Regions from separate parts of the Homo sapiens genome. Here region 2 is linked to region 1. The links are contacts of gene promoters, found by promoter capture Hi-C in human tissues and cell types (Jung and others, 2019). All regions are on one chromosome and are shown on one strand. The core of a region is centred on a gene start or on the middle of the fragment in contact, and the rest is flanking DNA. Distances in the headings are between cores, read along the strand shown.

Evidence for each region. Contacts are between HindIII fragments. The study calls those that stand out against the background at their distance.
Region 2: a contact is called between a fragment that was not itself captured here and the fragment with the promoter of GIP in region 1, in 1 of the 25 tissues and cell types used here (dorsolateral prefrontal cortex).

The regions. Positions count from the first base shown.
Region 1 is chr17:48,964,266-48,969,920 of GRCh38, forward strand. GIP (gastric inhibitory polypeptide) reads right to left here and starts at 4,331. Exons shown (of 6, transcript NM_004123.3): 1 at 4,252-4,331; 2 at 2,882-2,988; 3 at 45-215. The coding sequence starts at 2,967. RefSeq lists enhancers at 236-785, 1,917-2,417, 2,418-2,918. The HindIII fragment of the contact is 44,226 bases long and covers 1-5,655 here.
Region 2 is chr17:48,656,322-48,661,274 of GRCh38, forward strand. All of the region lies in intron 3 of LINC02086 (long intergenic non-protein coding RNA 2086), which reads left to right. Among named protein-coding and RNA genes, the nearest start is that of LINC03057, 12 kb to the left of the region's middle. The HindIII fragment of the contact is 5,644 bases long and covers 1-4,145 here.

The sequences.
Region 1 (5,655 bases), core at 3,081-5,580:
AGAGCCCGGCACAGGGAACAGGAGGAGTGTAAGCAGCGACTCACTCATTCTTCTTCCCCTTTTGGGCCAGCAGCCAGTTCACAAAGTCTTGTTGGTGAATCTTGTCCATGGCAATACTGTAGTCACTGATGAAAGTCCCTTCCGCGTACCTGGGGCCTCGAGGTTGAGGGCTGCTCACCTTAGCATGAGATCCAACAGGCAGGGAGGGGAGAGCGCTGGAAACAAGGGTGCGGAGAAGGGGCAGAGATGGGGGGAGAATCACAATGCTAGGGTAAATGACTGTCACTAACAGGAGGCAGACACTTGAAAACAAACCAGTCCGTTTTTATGGAGACTCCCTGTGGATCCACTCCCCCACCCCACCCCAGGCTTTATCCTCAGCTCCAGGGCCCACTTCCTGCAGCCTCAGTGTGTGTGGCTCTGGATTCTGGGCAAAAAGAGATCACGGGGCCAGGGGCGGTGGCTCATGCCTGTAATCCCAACACTTTGGGAGGCCAAGGCAGGCGGATCACCTGAGGTCGGGATCGAGACCAGCCTGACCAACATGGAGAAATCCCGTCTCTACTAATAATACAAAAATTAGCCAGGCGTTGGCAGGGCGTGGTGGCTTACGCCTGTAATCCCAGCACTTTGGGAGGCTGAGGCGGGCGGATTACAAGGTCAGGAGATCGAGACCATCCTGGCTAACACAGTGAAACCCCGTCTCTACTAAAAATACAAAAAATTAGCCAGGCATGGTGGTGGGCGCCTGTAGCCCCGGCTACTCGGGAGGCTGAGGCAGGAGAATGGCGTGAACCCGGGAGGCGGAGCTTGCAGTGAGCTGAGATTGCGCCAGTGCACTCCAGCCTGGGAGACAGAGCGAGACTCCGTCTCAAAAAAAAAAAAATTAGCCAGGCGTGGTGGCACATGCCTGTAATCCCAGCTACTCAGGAGGCTGAGGCAGGAGAATCACTTGAACCTGGGAGGTGGAGGTTGCAGTGAGCTGAAATCGTGCCATTGCACTCCAGCCTGGGGAACAAGAGCAAAACTTCGTCTCAATAAAAAAAAAAAAAAAAAAGGCTGGGTGCGGTGGCTCACGCCTGTAATCCCAGCACTCTGGGAGGCCAAGGTGGGTGGATCACAAAGTCAGGAGATTGAGACCATCCTGGCTAACATGGTGAAACCCCGTCTCTACTAAAAATACAAAAAAATTAGCCAGGCGTGGTGGCAGGCGCCTGTAGTCCCAGCTACTTGGGAGGCTGAGGCAGGAGAATGGCGTGAACCCAGGAGGCGCTGCTTGCAGTAATCGGAGATCGCGCCACTGCACTCCAGCCTAGGTGACAAAGGGAGACTCCATCTCAAAAAAAAAAAAAAAAAAAGGGATCGGGGTCCCCTCATCTGAAAAGACTGAGTCACACAATTCCCTCCTTTATTCCTCCTGCCCTGGCCCTTCCTGATTCAATTCCTTGGTTCACATTCCATAACAATAGTCAACTCATACGAAAGCTCTGAGAAGCACTGTGTAAGCCCTTGAATCCATAAAATAATTTCATCCTCACAACATCCTATGAGGTAGGTTCTATTTATATCCCCATTTTGTGAATGGAGAAACCAAGGTGCAGAGATTACCTTATTATTGTCTTATTATCTGCCACTCCGTATAGGTAACAGATCCAGGATTTACCCCAGGCCATCTGGGCTCAGATCTATGTTCTTAACATCTACATGATACAGGCCAGGCGCAGTGGCTCACGCCTGTAATCCTAGCACTTTGGGAGGTCCAAGCAGGTGGATCACGAGGTCAGGAGTTCAAGACCAGCATGGCCAAGATGGTGAAACCCCATCTCTACTAAAAATACAAAAGTTAGCCGGGCGTGGTGGCAGGTGCCTGTAATCCCAGCTGCTTGGGAGGCTAAAGCAGAGAATTGCTTGAACCCGGGAGGCGGAGGTTGCAGTGAGCCAAGATCGCGCCAGTGCACTCCAGCCTGGGTGAGAAAGTGAGACTCCAATTAAAAAAAAAAAAAAAAGGGCCAGGCACAGGGATTACATGCCTTCAATCCCAGCGCTTTGGGAGGCCAAGGTGGATGGATCATCTAAGGTCAGGAGTTCGAGACCAGCCTGACCAACATAGTGAAACCCCATCTCTACTAAAAGTACAAAAATTAGCCGGGTGTGGTGGTGGGCACCTGTAATCCCAGCTACTCGGTAAGCTGAGGCAGGGAAAATTGCTTGAACCCAGGAGGCAGAGGTTGTAGTGAGCCGAGATTGTGCCACCACACTCCAGCCTAGGTGACAGAGCGAGACTCCATCCCCCCCCAAAAAAAAAGAAAAAGAAAAGAATAGAAAAAAAAAAGAATGCATTCATAAGCCTGGGTAACATGGCGAAACCTCATCTCTACAAAAAATTCAAAAACTAGCCGAGCGTGGTGGTACATGCCTGTGGTCCTAGCTGCTCGGGAGGCTGAGATGGGAAGATGCTTGAGCCTGGCAGGCAGAGGCTGCAGTGAGCTGCGATCACGCCACTGCACTCCAGCCTGGGCGACAGGGCAAGATCCTGTCTCAAAAAAAGAAAAAAGAAAAAAAGAAAAGAAAGAAGCAAACATGCATAAATGAATAAAACATTTATTGGGAAGGGAGATTCTGTCATCTTCGGACAATTAACCACCAGGAAGTCCCGCCAGAGATCTAACCATAGTCTCTCCCACTGTAACAGCAGCACACAATAAATCCTCTCTGGCTCAGTGCTCACTTTGCACTCACGCTGCCGGCAGGTATTTCCCTGGAGCTTCCTACCTCTTAGCCTGGATTCCTTCCCTTTCTCATCTCCCCCTAGAAACAAATCCAGAACCTGTCATCCCCTAACCCCTCCTCTGCCCCATCCCTTTCCTCTCACCACTCCTACCTGAAGTGACCCTCTTTCTTCTCTCCTAGTCCCACTGCCAGGAACAGGGACAGCAGCAGCAGAGCAAAGGTCTTCGTGGCCACCATCTTCCAAGGTTATTTCCTGAGCTAAGACAGAAAAAAGCCAGGACATGTTGAGAGAGCAACCAGTAGGGGTTCTGAAAGCTGGAGAGGGGCAAAGCCCTGAGGTTTGGACCCTTTCTTTTCCTTTTTCTTTTTTTTTTTTTTTTTTGAGATGGAGTCTCGCTCTGTCGTCCAGGTGGGAGTGCAGTGGCACAATCTTGGCTCACTGCAACCTCCACCTCCTGGGTTCAAGCCATTCTTCTGCCTCAGCCTCTCGAGTAGCCTGGACTACAGGCATGTGCCACCACTCCCGGCTAATTTTTGTATTTTTAGTAGAGACAGGGTTTCACCATATTGGCCAGGCTGGTCTCGAACTCCTGACCTTGTGATCTGCCCACCTGGGCCTCCCAAAGTGCTGGGATAACAGGCGTGAGCCATCGCGCCTTGCCAGTTTGGACCTTTTCTAAGAGCCTGGGGCAACACCATGGGGGAAGATGAGGGGTGCTGTGCACTGGAGTTAGTGACTAGAAGGGACATGGAATCTTACCAAAAGATGGACCAGGCTGGGTGCAGTGGCTCATGCCTGCAATCCCAGCACTTTGGGAGGCCCAGGTGGGCGGATCACTTGAGGTCAGGAGTTTGAGACCAGCCTGGCCAATATGGTGAAATCCTGTCTCTACATAAAAGACAAAGATTAGCCAGGTGTGGTGGTGCGCGCCTGTGATCCCAGCTATTCAGGAGGCTGAGGCATGAGAATCGCTTGAACCTGGGAGGAAGAGGTTGCAGTGAGCCGAGATTGCGCCAGTGCACTCCAGCCTGGGTGACAGAGCGAGACTCCATCTCTAAATAAATAAATAAAGGAAACATCAGCGCTACCTTCTCATTTCTCTTTCTCTTTTTTTGAGACAGGGTTTCGCTCTGTCACCCGGGTTGGAGTGCAGTGACACAATCGTGGCTCACTGCAGCCTCGACCTCCTGGGCTCAGGCAAACCTTTCACTTCACCCTCCCGAGTACCTAGAACCGCAGGCATGTACCACCATGCCCAGCTAATTTTTTAAATTATGTGTAGAGATCGAGTTTCCCTCCATTGCCCAGGCTGGTCTTGAACTCCTGTGCTCAAATGATCCTCCTACCTCGGCTCCCAAAGTATTGGGATTACAGGCATGAGGCACCGCACCTGACTATCTTCTCACATCTCATATAGAGGAAGAGAAAACTAAGATGCCAGGGCTGCTGAGCATCTCAGGGTTGCCAAGATCCATCTGCTCTCGGGTCATCTCATCCATCCCTGTCTCCACTTCTCTTACCAGACTTCCTTTCCAGCTCTTCCAGAAGAAGGACAGATAGGGGTCTCCTTCCCCTGATTTCTGGACCTTCTGAGCCTGCTGAAGAAATCATGCCCCAGCTCCTTTATATTAGGCATAGACCTGCTGATTAGCCTAAAAGCATCTTATCTCAAGAAATTAAGCCCACAGCTCCTGCCACATTAAGTCCATTTTACACATAATAGAGTTGCCCTTTCCACCTGAACTGTGCTAATTGGTGATTAACATTTGGCTATCTCCAGCTGCTGTCTGGGGCCTGCCTGTGGGTAGGGTACCCTAAGTACCCCCTTTTTTCTTCCTCCTCCTCCCTTCTGGGCACAGGGCCCACTACTATTCTTCTATGCCCTACTTCCTTTACAGTTGCCCTCAGTTAGAAGGGATACTTGTAGGCCAGGCGCGATGAATCACGTCTGTAATCCCAGCGCTTGGGAGGACGACACGGGCGGATCACCTGAGGTCAGGGGTTCGAGACCAGCCTGGCCAACATGGTGAAACCCAGTCTCTACTAAAAATACAAAAATTAGCTGGGCATGGTCGTGCACGGCTGTAATCCCAGCTACTTGGGAGGTTGAGGCAAGAGAATCACTTGAACCTGGGAGGCAGAAGTTACAGTGAGCCAAGATCGAGTTCACTGCACTCCAGCATGGGCAACAAAGAGAGACTCTCTCAAAAAAGAAAAAAAGAAAAGAAAAAAGAAAGGGGGCCGGGCGCAGTGACTCACGCCTGTAATCCCAGCACTTTGGGAGGCCGAGGCGGGTGGATCACGAGGTCACGAGATCGAGACCATCCTGGCTAACACAGTGAAACCCCGTCTGTACTAAAAACACAAAAAATTAGCCGGGCATGTTGGCAGGTGCCTGTAGTCCCAGCTACTCGGGAGGCTGAGGCAGGAGAATGGCGTGAACCCGGCAGGCGGAGGTTGCAGTGAGCCGAGATGGCGCCACTGCCTGCCAGCCTGGGCGACGGAGCGAGACTCCATCTCAAAACAAACAAACAAACAAAAAAAAAAAAAACAAACAAAAATTAGCCAGGCATGGTGGCACGTGCCTGTAGTCCCAGCTACTTGGGAGGCTGAGGCAGGAGAATCGCTTGAACCCAGACCTGGAGGCAGAGGTTGTAGTGAGCCAAGATCGTGCCACTGCACTCCAGCCTGGGTGACAAAACAAGACTCTGTCTCAAAAAATAAAAATAAAAATAAAAAAGGGTACTTGTAGTGAAGACAGACTTGGGGTAGGGTGGCACTAACTGGCAGGGGGACACTCCCACAAGGCAACAGGCTACTTCTGGGTGGGAGAGAGTAGGTCCACAGTCATCTGAATCCCAGCTCTGGACAGTGGCCTATGGCTTTGGTGATGTGGCAATGCCCCCATCACATTATCTAGAGAG
Region 2 (4,953 bases), core at 74-2,573, 310 kb before region 1:
AAATGGAGGGCAAAAGATTAAGGAGGAGTTGTGGGGCTTCAAAGCTGTCAGTGGTCAAACATCAAATATGGAATTGGATTCTGTTACAATTCACCCCTGATGTTTAATGGATTACTGAAATGTATCCTGTTTTTTTAAATTAAATTTAAACCTGTTTAAGTATGCTGTGATGGTACTCTATGAGGCCTGCAGCCTGAGGCCAGTAAGGGGGATAAAATTTCTGTTCAATGCCTTCTTATTAAAGAGCCTAATGTTATGTATTTTGAGAAGTGAAATGAATGCCTCGGTCACTCTCAAGAATGTATGGAACTCTGAAGGGGATAAGGAGTATCTTGGTGAGGCCTTGTATTGTGGCTTGAGTATGTGCAGAGATATATCTGACCTTGATTTATATTTCTGGGTATCTTCAAGCAAGACATTTCCAGAGTTCTTTACCCCAAAGAGGATGACCTTGGATAAAGAACTGTTGTTGCCATTAGTCAGACCAGATAGCCAGGTAATTGGCAATGGCCTAAGGGTCTGAAAAATGTTAAGATGGGGTTGCTTATTGGGCAGGGCATCCTTTGTTGCTAAGATGACTGCTTGAAGTTTGGCAAATTGTGTGGACCCTTGGGTCCTGTCTTTTATCAGGGATGTCTGTTAAGGGATGGAAAACACAAATAGAATCAGTTGTGACGGTAGCACTGCCATTTTTAAAGTATGTGAATTCCCTTTGCTGTTCACTCAGTTGATCCCAAAGGGATCCCCAAGAAGCCAAGGGGTCTGAGAGAGGAATGACCTCCTTCAGCACTGTGGTGTCTGGCCAGAAACTGAGGACAGGGGAGCCCATGGCCTCCTGCAGGCAGGATATGCTACAGGACCCAGATTTGGCTCCATACTGTAGATACTATTTTCATTTTAGCAAGGAAGCCTCAATAGCCATGCCAAGCTTTGGGGGTGTGCCTTCCATGGCCCAAGGCATAGCGGGCAGCTAGTGTGTCATGGTCTCAAGGCCTGTAAGAGCCTCCTTTTTTGGAAGAGTCCAGTATGCAGTCAGCTATTGTCACTCTAATAATGTATAGCATCAGGCTGAGGAAGGCGATTTCTTGCATCGGAAACCCACAGACTATTTATGGCCATCATAAGTGAACCAAAGACTCTGGAAGTATGAGAGGAGGTTGCTAAAGCCTCTACAGTGAAGGAATTTCTGGGGAGCACTAACAGTCTCTGGAAGTATGAGAGGAGGTTGCTAAAGCCTCTACAGTGAAGGAATTTCTGGGGAGCACTAACAGTAGGGTCTGTCCTTTTGCAATTTGAACAGGTTTTAAGCCTTTTGTTTTAGTGGACCCCATTCAGGTGAACCAATTTGTAAGGAACAGCAAAAATGGGCTTAAGTAGGGCCGGGTGCAGTGGTTCACACCTGTAATCCCAGCACTTTGGGAGGCCAAAGCGGGTGGATAACTTGAGGTCAGGAGTTCGAGACCAGCCTGGCCAACATGCTGAAACCCCGTTTCTACTAAAAAAATACAAAAAAATTAGCTGAGCGTGGTGGTGGGTGCGTGTTATCCCAGCTTCTTGGGAGGCTGAGGCAGGAGGATCACTTGAACCTGAGAAGCAGAGGTTGCAGTGAGCCAAGATCATGCCACTGCAGTCCAGCCTTGGTGGCAGAGGGAGATTCTGACTCAAAAAAAAAAACCAAAAATGTCTTAATTAAAATTTGCAAAGGAGGAACATGTTGCTTCAGAACCCCCAGAGTTCTAAAAGATACTGGGCTTTTAGCATTGTGGGTGCTAAGAGGGTCAATAGAGATTTCTTGACAATGTCAGAAATGTCAAGGATAAACAGCTCTCAATTTACTAAGTAATACCCAGAAATTTTACTGAGGTATACTTGTGCTTGTACCTTGTACTTTGTGTGGAAGAAATGACCCATCCTTTTTCATGAGCTGCCTTTTGAATGTTTGTATGCGTTAAATTAGTGTATCAAATGAATTTCCACTGCACCCAACTACTTCAGGAGGCTGAGAGGGGAGGATCGTTTGAGCCCAGGAGTTTGAGGCTGCAGTGTGCTATGACTGTACTTGTGAATAGCTACTGCACTCCAGCCTGGGCAACATCATAAGATCCTGTCTTTTTATTTTTATTATTTATTTATTTATTTATTTTTTTTTTTCGAGACAGAGTCTCACACTGTTGCCCAGGCTGGAGTGCAGTGGCGTGATCTCGGATCACTGCAAGCTCAGCCTCCTGGGTTCATGCCATTCTCCTGCCTCAGCCTCCCGAGTAGCTGGGACTACAGGCACCTGCCGCCACATCCGGCTATTTTTTTTGTATTTTTAGTAGAGACGGGGTTTCACCATGTTGGCCAGGATGGTCTCGATCTCTTGACCTCATGATCCACCCACCTCGGCCTCCCAAAGTGCTGGGATTACAGGCGTGAGCCACCGCGCCCGGCCTCAAGACCCTGTCTTTTTAAAAAATTAATTTCCTCTGAGAAGGATGTCATATATCTAACATCATACTTGTGTTTCTGGAGAGAGTTGGATGCAGTTAAGGTTTTTGTTTGCAAAGATCGTGTGCAATGGCAGGTCTGTTGGGGGTCCCATGGGTAGTTAGTATATTGTGTCCATGCAATGGTAAAGACAAGCTGGCTGAAACGGGAACTTAAGAGAACATATTAGCCCAAATATATGATAGCAAAGTATTTGCCAGTTGCTGATTGGAGGGAGGCAGTAATTTTAGTAGTATAGAAGCTGGCCTGTTTTTTACTCACAACACTTCTGACACTAAATGTATGGGTTTTTTCCCCTATACCAACTGATATGGTTTGACTGTGTTCCCACCCAAATCTCATCTTGAATTGTAACTCCCACAATTCCTACATGTCGTGGGAGGAACCCAGTGGGAAGTAATTGAAACATGAGGGTGGGTCTTTCCTGTGCTATTCTCATGATAGTGGATAAGTCTCACAAGATCTGATGGTTTTAAAAACGGGAGTTTCCCTGCACAAGCTCTCTTTCTCTTGCCTGCTGCCATCCATGTAAGATGTGATTTGTTCCTCCTTGCCTTCTGCCATGATCGTGAGGCCTCCCCAGCCATTTGGAATTGTAAGTCCATTATACCTCTTTTCTTCCCAGTCTCGGGTATATCTTTATCAGCAGCCTGAAAACGACCTAATACACCAACCAATTCTCCAACTCTCTGAAAACCAACTGGGTGTCCAGCAATTCAGTTTCATTCTGACACTATCTACCTGGAGTTCACATCAGTTCCCACGAGATTGCCCCATCTTTAGAGACCAGTCACAAGTCCCAGGCCTCCTGTACTTCTGACTGGCCAGTTAAAAATCGGGTGTTCTCATGACCCCCTCCTCAGTTTCCATAATTTACTGGAATAGCTCACAGAACTCGGGAAAATACTTTACTTACATTTACTGGCTTATTATAAAGGATGCAATTCAGGAACAGCCAGATGGAAGAGATGCCCAGGGAAGGGTATTGAGCGGGGGTGGAGGAGGGTACCCCCAGAGTTTCCATGCCCTGAGTGCTTCACTCTCCCGGGACCTCCACGTGTTTACAGAACCCTGTAGGGTAGAAGGGACTTATGGAGGTTTAATTACCTAGGCATGATTGATTAAATTATTGGCCATTGGTGACTGATTCAATCTCCAGCCCTCTCCCCGCCCCATAGGTCTGAGATGAGCCTGAAAGTTCCAAACTTTTAATGCCTTGGTCTTTCTGATCATCAGCCCCCATCTTGAAGCTATCTAGCACTCCCAGCTAATCATTTCATTAGCATGCAAAAGACACATATTAGCCTAAAGATTTCAAGGGTTTCAGGAGTGCCAGGAACTCTTAAGTGGAACTGCAGCATTATGATTGTGGTAATCCACCATCAGGCATCCTTCATTCATTCTAGGTTTAAGACCAGGACAATTTGGAGTGGAGAAAAACTGGGGACAATCACCCTTCTCTAAATAGGTCTTATATAATGGGTTTTGAGCTTATGGCTAGGTGCGGTGGCTCACATCTGTAATCCTAGCACTTTGGGAGGCTGAGGCATGTGGATTGCATGAGTCCAGGAGTTTGAGACCAGCCTGGAAAACATGGGAAAAAACCCATCTCTACAAACAAAAATACAAAAATTAGCCGAAACAAGTGGCGTGTGCCTGTAGTCCTAGCTACTAGGGAGGCTGAGGTGGCAGGATCACCTGAACCTGGGAAGGGGAAGCTGCAGTGAGCTGAGATTGCACCACTGCACTCCAGCCTGGGCCACAGAGTGAGACCCTGTCTCGAAAAGGTCCTAGTACATTTTATTTATTTATTTTTTATACAGAGTCACTCTCAGGATACCTAGTTTTATCTGTGTGAACAGTTTTAATAGGTTATGATAAAGGCTCAGGTTCTCATTTTGTTAAGCCAGTTGTAATTGCCAAAAACTTAATTTTGTTTTTGTTTAGTACTCACTAGGCCAGAGTACATGTCCATTGTGGAATATTTTAGGGCAACAGGCACTATGAATATGGGGAATTTAGGCAAATCAATAGTTCTTCTTCTTCTTTTCTTTTTTTTTTTTTTTTTTTTTTTTTTTTTGAGACAGAGTCTCGCTCTGTCGCCCAGGCTGGAGTGCAGTGCCATGATCTCGGCTCACTGCAACATCTGCCTCCTGGGTTCAAGCGATTCTCCTGCCTCAGCCTCCAGAGTAGCTGGGACTACAGGCGCGTGCCACCACACCTGGCTAATTTTTTTGTGTGTTATCCAGGCTGGTCTCGATCTCCTGACCTCGTGATCTGCCTGCCTCGGCATCCCAAAGAGCTTTTATTACAGGCATGAGCCACCGCGCCCAGCCTAGTTTTGTATTTTTTAGTAGAGATGGAGTTTCACCATATTGGCCAGGCTGGTCTCGAACTCCTGACCTCAGGTAATCCACCTGCCTTGGCCTCCCAAAGTGTTGGGATTATAGGCATGAGCCACCA